3 separate regions of the Homo sapiens genome follow, and all the other regions are linked to region 1. Evidence: promoter capture Hi-C in 16 types of primary human blood cells and fetal thymus (Javierre and others, 2016). All regions are on one chromosome and are shown on one strand. The core of a region is centred on a gene start or on the middle of the fragment in contact, and the rest is flanking DNA. Distances in the headings are between cores, read along the strand shown.

The links. Contacts are between HindIII fragments. The CHiCAGO score rates a contact against its expected background, and 5 or more counts as called.
Region 2: a contact is called between the fragment with the promoter of CZIB-DT here and the fragment with the promoter of FAF1 in region 1, in 2 of 17 cell types (neutrophils and fetal thymus). The highest score is 6.5, in neutrophils.
Region 3: the fragment with the promoter of MAGOH here is called in contact with the fragment with the promoter of FAF1 in region 1 in 2 of 17 cell types (neutrophils and non-activated CD4 T cells); the score reaches 6.9 in neutrophils.

Annotation. Positions count from the first base shown.
Region 1 is chr1:50,958,274-50,961,693 of GRCh38, forward strand. It overlaps FAF1 (Fas associated factor 1), which reads right to left and starts at 1,994. Exons shown (of 19, transcript NM_007051.3): 1 at 1,494-1,994. The coding sequence starts at 1,538. It also overlaps a transcript of CDKN2C not described here. RefSeq lists an enhancer at 1,281-1,330 and silencers at 1,641-1,690, 1,801-1,960. The HindIII fragment of the contact is 1,270 bases long and covers 883-2,152 here.
Region 2 is chr1:53,218,921-53,222,503 of GRCh38, forward strand. CZIB-DT (CZIB divergent transcript) reads left to right here and starts at 1,440. Exons shown (of 1, transcript NR_185918.1): 1 at 1,440-3,583. It overlaps CZIB (CXXC motif containing zinc binding protein), which reads right to left and starts at 1,714. Exons shown (of 8, transcript NM_017887.3): 1 at 1,650-1,714; 2 at 1,341-1,424; 3 at 1-3. The coding sequence starts at 1,655. RefSeq lists an enhancer at 1,115-1,616 and silencers at 1,486-1,855, 1,986-2,045. The HindIII fragment of the contact is 4,059 bases long and covers 1,148-3,583 here.
Region 3 is chr1:53,236,774-53,240,183 of GRCh38, forward strand. MAGOH (mago homolog, exon junction complex subunit) reads right to left here and starts at 1,745. Exons shown (of 5, transcript NM_002370.4): 1 at 1,588-1,745. The coding sequence starts at 1,675. It overlaps MAGOH-DT (MAGOH divergent transcript), which reads left to right and starts at 1,837. Exons shown (of 3, transcript NR_038953.1): 1 at 1,837-2,572. RefSeq lists enhancers at 1,398-2,039, 1,527-1,586, 1,627-1,756. The HindIII fragment of the contact is 5,872 bases long and covers 1-2,563 here.

The DNA of each region.
Region 1 (3,420 bases), core at 744-3,243:
ATGGTTTAATCAAACTGTAGATATATGCATATTCCTAATACCTGTATATCAGATTTCACTGGGTAACCAAAACAGCAAACTCTGAAAATGGTTATCTGAACGTTAATTTGTAAAAATAAGGGCCGGGAGCAGTGTGGCTCACGCCTGTAATCCCAGCACTTTGGGAGGCCGAGGAGGGTGGATCACGAGGTCAGGAGATCAAGACCATCCTGACTAACACGGCGAAACCCTGTCTCTACTAAAAATACAAAAATATTAGCCAGGCGTGGTGGCCGGCGCCTGTAGTCCCAGCTACTCGGGAGGCTGAGGCAGGAGAATGGCGTGAACCTGGGAGGCGGAGCTTGCAATGAGCCGAGATCGCGCCACTGCACTCCAGCCTGGGCGACAGAGCGAGACTCCGTCTCAAAAAAAAAAAAAAATTAATTAATTTTAAAAAAAATAAGGAACTTAATAGAACAGAGAGAGAGAAAAGCCCAACAAAATTTCAGCAAGGAAAAATACTGCCTACTAAGCTAGTGTTAGAACCTGTGCAATGTGAGTATTAAAAAAGAGGGAAAAGTCTGCCTATACTTGACAGTAGCTTCTAAGTTGATGCCAAAATGGCCAAAAATATCTCACTAAAATAATTCCTTCACCAAACATCAAAAGGCAAAGGTAGCACTCACAGGATATTAGTTCTAGCTCCAAGTCTTTCACAATGCATACAGTTCTACTTTCAAAGGGCCTTCCTAAGATACTTACATGTCAGTGGCACTACGACTGGGTTTATTAAGAGAACAGCCTTTACTTATCCTTTAAAGTATTCCTGGAGAAAGGACACCAACCAAGCAATTCAAGTCTGTAGGGGAGGGGAATCCGCAAATATGAATAGGTAATTTATTAAGCTTGTGAATTCATTGCAGAGATACTCTGGAATATATAGTCTTATCTGTCTCCTTGTTATCTTCTTACCCTCCAAAGATTCCAATTAGGCAAAGTCTCAAATGTTTACTCCTCTTTGAAAAGGACCTCAGTACCCCATTGTCATTGCCCTCGCCATCTCATCATTCTGCTTTTTTACTCTTCCCTTAATACAATATAAATACACCACGCCCATAACACCACACGCTCCACGCTCACACTCCATACATCTCTCCCCACAGAACCACCCAAAACATCCCATACTTAATGGTCCAACACCAATTAAAACAAAAACTCTACACGTCCCCCCATATAATACAGGAAACACTACACATTCCACACACATTGTAACCCAAGTCATTAATACCTCCAATCCCATTCAACCCGTACTTAACACATTCTACACACTCATGATAGCATATAAATTATACGCTTCTCCATAGCTCGCCACACACACACACACACGCCACGCACCGTATAAAAGCCTAAATGACACACCACTGCAGCGTTCAAACGCTGGGAAGAAGACTCCCTTGTGGCACCGGAAACCCACGAGGTTGGAAGTGGGAGGGGAAGAGGGCCAGATACTTCACCTGAAAATCCGCCAGGATCATCTCCCGGTCCATGTTGGACGCCATGGCGGCCGCCGAGTTCCGCGGCTCCGGGAGCGAAGCGCGCACCTGGGAGGCAGACGGCACCTCCTGCGACCGTCGCCGCCACCGCCGCCGCCGCCGCCGGGCGCCGAGGGGCTGGCGGGCGAGCCGGCGGGCGGGTCGGCGGGCCAGCGGGCGGGGCAGCGCGGGAAGCGCTAGGCGCTCATGCACTCGGTAACCTTCAGGCGCCCCGGCCGCCCGCCTGCAACCTGCGGAGCCCGCGTCGCAGCAGCCCGGACAGGAAGATTGGTCTGGATGTGGGTCCGGTCTTACAGTCGCGGGCCAGGATGAGGGCAGGTTGCGACAGCGCGCACCCGGATACCTTCAGCGGCGTTAAGCCCGGCGGGGGCGGGGAAACCGAGCGAGCGAGCGGGCGGGCGAACGCCGCGGCCGCCTCCGCCTCCTCCGCTTCCTCCCTGGCCGCCGCCTCCGCCCCTGGTTGGCCAGCGCCACGGCTGTCGCACATTTTGCCTGTCATCGAGGTCGCAAAGCGCCGCTTTGCGGCTCCACGTGACCACCCTCCTGTCAAGCGCTGAGCGCGCGACTACCCGGCCAGGATCTCTGCGCTGGCGGCAGAGACTGCAACCTGCAGCTGCGGAAGCTTCAAGTCTCGCAACAGGTTATTCCAGTTTGGATTTAAGCAAAGGCCTCAGGATAGCGCCTCCCCCTAGCTGAGGCGGGGACCAGATTGTGCACCTCACGTGGTTAGTCACACAAATACACACCACCCTCACAAACCAACTAAACACACTGTTACAACTCGTCTAACAAACAGCATTTCAGAAATATATGTTTTTCTCTACAATGTTTCAGCAAAATACAGCTTCATATAGTCTCTCACGCTCAACCTGTCAAAACCGAATCCACACTGTCACACCCAGTCCCAAGCTCCCTGACGTCTGCATCCTCAGACTCCGTAACACAGAAGTAACCAGACTGCCATGGTAGACATGGGAGAGACGAGGAAGCTGAGAAAGGTAAAAATCTCGTTCCAGAGAAGAGGAGGAGCATTTTTTTTAATTGATAAGGTAGTTATGAGAAATAACAACCTCGAGTTAATAGGGTTGCTCCAAAGGGGGAAAAAAGGGAAAACCTTTCTACTGCTGCAGTTATATTTGTTTTTTTAAGCTGAGACATCTTACAAATGGGATAAAACTTGAATCCAGCTTTGAATATAGTCAGTCTATTTTTATTTATTTATTTATTTATTTATTTATTTATTATTTTGAGACGGAGTCTCGCACTGTGGCCCGGGCTGGAGTGCAGTGGCGCGATCTCGGCTCGCTGCGACCTCCGCTTTCTGGGTTCAAGCGATTCTCCTGCCTCAGCCTCCATAGTAGCTGGGATTACAGGCTCCCGCCACCAAGCCCGGCTAAGTTTTTTTTGTATTTTTAGTAGAGACGGGGTTTCACTATGTTGGGCAAGCTGATCTCGAACTCCTGTCCTCGTGATCCGCCCTCCTCGGCCTCCCAAAGTGTTGGGATTACAGGCGTGAGCCACTGCACCCGGCCTATTCATTTTCATAAGAAATTATTTTGGAATATTCACCAAATATTGAAAGTTTCAACCCATGGTCAGAAATTGACAACCTCTGTAACTAAAACAGCCAAAGACTATGTACAATGAAGTGTGACAGTTTGTAATTGTCGTCCAGGTTAGAGAAAGTGTGACAGTGGAAGTTGTTCATCCTTGACTTGGGAAAATATCAGCTTCTGGATTGTCATGGGGCATTTACTTGCTTTGGAAAGTATGTAAAAGCTTGAAAATGTGAAGTAAGATTGCTGATTTTATCCTGTAGAGCTAAAATAACTAGTGAAATCATCATGTAGCATGAAGGCCTAGGCTTCCCTTAAGAACTTTTTAAACT
Region 2 (3,583 bases), core at 190-2,689, 2.3 Mb after region 1:
CATCTTTGGGGAAAAAGAATGTTAGTAAAGCAGCTGGCTCTGCTGCACAGACACCAAGGAAAGGGTAAGAACAGTGGGAGGTGGGCAGGCTCATGATCTACCTTCTTGATGGCAATCTCACTTCATCCCTAACACCTGCCCCAACAAGGACAAAACTAGAACTATCTCTGGGCAAAGGATAGGTAAGGCTGTTTCCTATGCCGGCGTGCCCACCCTCCTCTATGAAGTGCTCAGTGTGGCCGGGGATTCAAGGCACCTGTGGTGCAGAAATGGTTTCAGCGGAGGTGAGGGGGGGGAATATGGAGAGATTTGTTAGAAGATACAAAATTACAGCTATATGGGAGGAATAAGTTCTAGTGTTCTATAGCACTGTAGGATGACTATAGCTGACAATAATATATAGTTTCAAATAGCTAGGATATTAAATGCTCCCAACACAAAGAAATGATACACGTTTGAGGTGAATATGCTAACTACCTTGATCTGATCACAATACATTACATTTATCGGAACATCACTATATACCCCATAAATATGTACAATTCTGTGTCAATTAAGAAAAAAAAAGAGAAATGGCCTCAGCAGGCCCCCGACCCACTCTGCTTGGTTAGCTTTATGTTCCCACAGGCCCTGTATGTCACTGGTATAAGCACTTATCACTCTATTGTTACTCTATTTTTCTGTCTCCTTCACTCGATTCCGCTTCTTCAAGCCAAAGAACAGATTCTCCCAAGTAAGCCCTGGTATTCAGGCTTCAAAATCCTGGGAAACAAAAGTAGTCCGGAGGCAGCTTCCCGAAAAACAGGGCTTTTGAGAGGTACAGAAGGATGCTGGGATTTTTGACCAGGAGTAAAACAGAGCAGAAGCTCTGGGATCTGGAAGAGTGAAGAGCCTCGAACTGCTGGGGAAGGGGAGGCCTCTGTAGACCATGCCACTAGGGTACCAGCTTTACCAGTGTGGGAGGGCTAAGGAAGGGTGGATTACGCACAAAATTAAACTATTTCACAATAAAGAAAACCAAATCAATAAACGAAAGGCGAACTATTCACCTTATTAAATAATCACAAGCGTCCCTTCAAGTAGCATTTCGTTTAGTGTCCATTTACAGACCACGAAATATTTAACACAGGGAAGAACTACAAAATGAAGCTTTCCAAGACTGCCAATTAGAGATAAACCAATACACTTTAATAGAAAGCAAACGTAAAATTCTAACTAGGAAAACCCCGAACACTTAATGTGCCTGGTTAAATATTTTCTCATACTGCCGGAGAGAAGGCTCCGGTTCAGCACTGAGATCAGGACGGGCCTCCTCTCCCCGGGCCCCGCCCCGGCCGCACCTTCAGGTACCACCGGAAGTCCTCGCCCACGGGCCGGAGGTTGGTGATGTTCTCCAGCGTGGCTTTGAGTTGCAGCGCGATTTTCTGAGGGGGAGGGCCAGAGCGACTGCGTCAGCCGTGCCTGCGCAGCCCCACGCCTGCCCGACCCTCCCGCATTCCCAGCCGTGGGTGCCACAGGGAGACACTCCTTCTGCCTCCTGCTCCTTCAGCGCGCACCCACTCGCTTCATCTCCTCCTGGCGCGAGCTGTTGCCTCCCAGACCCTCGCCACCTCCCCTCCGTGTCCCCGCGGCGGGCGGCCTCCCCTCACCCCCATGGTAGCCCTCTCCGCCCGGTGCTGGCTGCGGCCCTTGCCGTTGCTTTCCGGCGCGTCGTAAAAGGCGGGTGCCGTCTGCGCACCCTCAGTAGGGCGGGGCCGGGGCCGGGCCGCGGGGCAGGGACTTCTGCGCGCCGCTGCTCGCCTGGCCCACTGGGCTTTTCGCATCTGGGGATCTGGGGCCAGTGGAGGTCAGCCAGGTCCGCGAGCAACCTGTGCTCAGGCCAGCGGAAGCCTGACTCCAGGATTCGGTGGTGCCACAGACAGTTACTGAACGCCAATTTTGTGCCTGCTTTAAGCGAACAGGACAGTTCCTGACCCTCAGTTCTTTCCAGGCTCTTCACTACTCTGCCTGCCCTGGAACTTCTCAGATCACGTCAGCTCCCTCTGCCCAGGGGAAAAGCTACAAAAGGAAGAGTTCCAAGACTGCCAAATAAAGATAAACCAATACGCTTTAAAAAGTAGAATGTATTGGTTTATCAGATTTGGGGATGATGCCTTTCTTCAAACTGCCCTTTCCTGTTTCACCCAAGAGACCTGGTTTCTAGGCCCTTCTCCAGAGTTTGCCCTGTGTCCACATCCTTCTCACTGTGGTCCTTGCGACTGGACATTCCCCTTCAGCTGGCTCTTTTTTGGGAGCCCACCTGGCTTATCCTTCTCTCATAACGTTTATTGAACTTTATTTTACCTGGCCTCCTGTCCAGGCTACATCTGAGACCATGCAGGAGCTGTGGAGATTAACGGTAAAAGGAACAGCACATTCAAGACTCTTCTAGGAGGTGGGGCAAGATAGCCAAATAGAACCCTCCAGTGATCCTCCTCCTCCTCTTCCCTGGCAGGAACACCAAACTGAACAACTATCCACACAAGAAAGCACCTTCATGAGAACCAAAACTCAGGTAGCAATCACAGTAGCTGGTTGTAACGTCACATCAAGATATAAGGCAATGGCTGGGTGCGGTGGCTCACACCTGTAATCCCAGTGCTTTGGGAGGCTGAGGCGGGCAGACCACCTGAGGTCAGGAGTTTGAGACCTAGCTGGCCAACATAGTGAAACCCTGTCTCTACTAAAAATACAAAAATCAGCCGAGTATGGCAGTGCACACCTGTAGTCCCAGCTACTCCGGAGGCTAAGGCAGGAGAATTGTTTGAACCCGGGAGGTGGAGGTTGTAGTGAGCTGAGATCATGCCATTGCACTCTAGCCTGGGTGACAGAGTGAGACTCTATCTCATAAAAGAAGAAAAAAAAAGGAACAAGGCAATGAAGAGGGTAGGAAAGACAGTCTTGAATTGCTACCACCACCCCTCCCTCATCCTCTGGCAGCACCTGGCTGCCTGGCATAGAGAGAGAATCTGTGTGCTTATGGGACTTTGCATTGGAACTGAGTTTTGCCCTGTCACAGTGGAAAGCAACTCAGGGCAGAATTCAGCTAGTGCCCACAGAGGAAGCACTTAGAGAAACCCTAGCCAGAGGGGAATCATCCATCCCAGTGGTCAGGTTCTGGCGAGCCCCACCACCACTGGCTAAAGTGCTTCAGGGTCCTAAATAAATTCGAAAGGCAGTCTAGGCCACAAAGACTGCAATTCCTGGGCAAGTCCTGGTGCTGTGCTGAGCTCAGAGCCCGTGGACTTGGGGTGCACACAGCCTAGTGAGATACCAGTTGGGGAGCCAAAGGAGTGTTTATGTCACCAGTCCCCCAACCCCAGGCAGCACAGCTCACGGCTCCAGGAGAGACTCCTTTCCCTTAGAGGAAAGGAGAGGGGAAAGTAAAGAGGACTTTGTCTTACAGCTTGGATACCATCCCAGCCACAGTAGAATAAAACACCACGCAGAGTCCCGAAGCCCCCTTGCCAGGCTCTATCTCCCAGATATTTCTAGAGCTACCATGGGCCAGAAGGGAACCCGCTGCTTTGAAGGAAAGGACCCA
Region 3 (3,410 bases), core at 495-2,994, 2.3 Mb after region 1:
CATCTTTGTGCCCCACTTAGTGGATGTCTTCTGTCATCTTTGATTGCTCTTTCCTTCACCACAGTGCCTCTGCCAACAAAATCCTATCAACGATCAAAGTCCAGTTGGTTCTGCCTCCAACAGTTTCCTAAATCTTTCTCTCCATTTCTACTATCTCTGTAGTCCCAACCAGTATCTTTTTTTTTTTTTTTTTTTGAGACAGAGTCTTGCTCTGTCACCCAGGCTGGGGTACAGTGGCACTATCTCAGCTTGCTGCAACCTCCGCCCCAGGTTCAAGAGATTCTCCTGTCTCAGCCTCCCGAGCAGCTGGGATTACAGGCGTCTGCCACCACACCCGGCTAATTTTTGTATTTTTAGTAGAGGCGGGGTTTCACCATGTTGGCCAGGCTGGTCTTGAACTCCTGACCTCAAGTGATCCGCATACCTCGGCCTCCCAAAGGGCTGAGATTACAGGCTTGAGCCACCGCGCCCGGCCCCCAACATCTTTCGTGTCTTGACAACTGCAACAGTCTCCTAATCAATAGCCCTGTTTCCACTCTTGCCCATTCCGCACCCAATAACCAGAATGCTTTTTCAAGAAGAGATCACATTTCTTCTCTGCTTAAAACCTTCCAAGCCCGGCCGGGCGCGGTGGCTCACACCTGTAATCCCAGCACTTTGGGACGCCGAGGCGGGCGTATCACCTGAGGTCAGGAGTTCGAGACCAGCCTGGCCAACATGGTGAAACTCCGTCTCTACTAAAAATACAAAATTAGCCGGGCGTGGTGGTGGGCGCCTATAATTCCAGCTACTCGGGAGGCTGAGGCAGGAGAATCACTTGAACCCGGGAGGCGGAGGTTGCAATAAGCCGAGATCGCGCCATTGCACTCCAGCCTGGGCAAAAAGAGCGAAAGCCGTCTCAAAAAAAAAAAAAAAAAAAAGGCCTTCCAAGTCCAAACTTTTTACCGTGGTCTATAAAGACCTAAGAGGTGCCGCTCCTACCTACCTATCCGACATCATCTCCTGCTATCTCCCAGCTCACCACTCTTCAACCACACTGACCACCTGAGACACGCCTAGCTCATTCCCGCCCTGCAGCCTTGACATCTGGTATTCCCTTTGTGTAGAATGGTCTTCCTTATGAGCTTCACAAGGCTGAGCCCTTCTTGTTAATTAGGACTCGGCTGCAATATACCCTTTACAGAGAGCTCTCTAATGGCCAACCTATCTAAAAGCAGCCCATCCAGCAATTATTCTACCATGTTATTTTTTGACCACTCACTGCTATCTGGAATCATCTTTTTGTTTATGATCTCTCTCCCGGCAGTAAAACACAAGTTCCACGAGAGGGGAAGTTTGTCTACCTTCGCTGCCGTATTCCCAAAGAGTGGAACAGAGCCTGGCACACAGTGGGCGTTCAGTCAACGTTTGCTGAATGGATAGAAAGACCCCGTGGAGCAGACACAGTGGCGTTCCTTTAAGATCTGCACTGCACAGGTCTCAGTCCCTCCCTCCTCTAGTTCCCCACAGATTTCCGACCCTCGGCCTCCCCACTCGCCGGCCCCCAGGCCTGGTCCCCGCTCCCGGCGGGCGGCAGGCTGCTTTTACCGTCCGGTCGAAACTCAAACTCCAGGAACTCGTGGCCGAACTTGCCCTTGTGCCCCACGTAGTAACGCAGATAAAAGTCACTCTCCATGGCTCCCAAAAGACAACCGAGCCTGAACTTCCAAGAGCAAGCCGCACTGCCGCCGTCTGCGCCCGACACTGACGTTTGCGGCGGCGCGCGGAAGTGACGTCAGGTCCCGTCGTCGCTGCGTGGAGGGGTTCCTTCTCGCTAACCTCTTCGCCCGGAAGTGGCAACAAGACTGCAACATCCCCTCACGCCTAGTCTGTAAAGAACTTTGTTTAACCCGGAGGCGGGGCCAGCCAGCTCCGCCCCTCCAGCTGGACGCGGGAGCGAGGTTGAGGTTCATACCCCTGGGTTCTCTCCAGGCCTGAGGCGGAGAGCCAGCCGCCTGCCTACCTCTGGGCTTTGAACCCCGGGTCTGGTGACTTCGCTTAAAGACCTCGGGCCGAAGGCCCGCCAGGCTCAACCTCGGTTCACAGGACCCCCGACTTGTGTGAGTCGTACACCGCTCTTTACCGTCTCTGGACCTAGGTCATCTCGGCAGTAAAATGGGGTGAAATGACCCGACCTCCCCGGAGGATGCCGCGCACGATGTGTGCCTCAAGTTGGCTTCCACTGACCTGAACTGTTAAGAAAGCCCTCCTCAGTGACGCCTTCCCTGAATCCACAGTGGAGATTGCCGTTTTCCTGGAACTAATTCACCCACACTTACCCATTTCATCCCTTTCCACCTTTTATTTCTACCTTTCTGCCCCACTGATCTCTAGAATAGGTGCTGGGAGACGTTAGAGTATTTGATCTCCCACTCCCCAGTCATCCCACTTACCGAGCAGTAATTCTCTGCCTGGCTGCACATTGCAATCACTTGGGAAGCCTCTAAAAATACTGATGCCAGGGCTCTACCCCAAGCCAGTTAAAATCTCCAGCGCTGGACCTGGGCATTGGTACTTTTTGTAAAGCTTTCAGGTGAGTCAGAGTTGAGGACCACTGACCAAAGAGGTCCTTTCTTTTCAGGGTAAAGTTGTCCTCTGTGAAGCCTTTCTGGCTCTGGAAAAAATTTACAGTTGAGTAGGCCCAGGGCAATCAAGATCATAATTATGTAATAGGAACCTGCTTTCACTCATCTAAGTTCCAGGCTTAGAAAGAATGAATGGTTCTAGAGACAGTGCCGAGATGACATCATTCTTGGGTCCTGGCGGCTAGAACTGTATACGATTCTGTAAGTTGGGACAGCAGTCTCTGATTCCTATTCCCAGTCTTTTCTTTTTGAGACGGAGTTTCGCTCTTGTTGCCCAGGCTGGAGTGCAATGGAGTGATCTCAGTTCACCGCAACCTCGCCTACCTAATTTTTAAACTTTTTGTAGAGGCAAAGTCTCCCTATGTTGCCCACGCTGGTCTCAAACTCCTGGGTTCAAGTGATTCTCCTGCCTTAGCCTCCCAAGTAGCTGGGATTACAGGCATGCGCCACCATGTCCAGCTAATTTTTGTAATTTTCTGTTTTTAGTAGAGACGGGGTTTCACCATGTTGGCCAGGCTGGTCTCGAACTCCCGACCTCAGGCGATCCGTCTGCCTCGGCCTCCCAAAGTGCTGGGATTACAGGCATGAGCCACCGCGCCCGGCCCTCAGTCTTAACACGGAGTCCTTTTCTCCCTGCAAAAGCATTAGCAGCAGAGTGTAGAGTAGGTGTGGTGGGGGAAAAATCACTGGACACAGGTTAAAATAATCCCTGTGTAACAATGACTCATTGTAACCAAAGGTGAACCGACTCAACTTTTTAGACTTCAGTTTCCTTCTCTTTAAAAT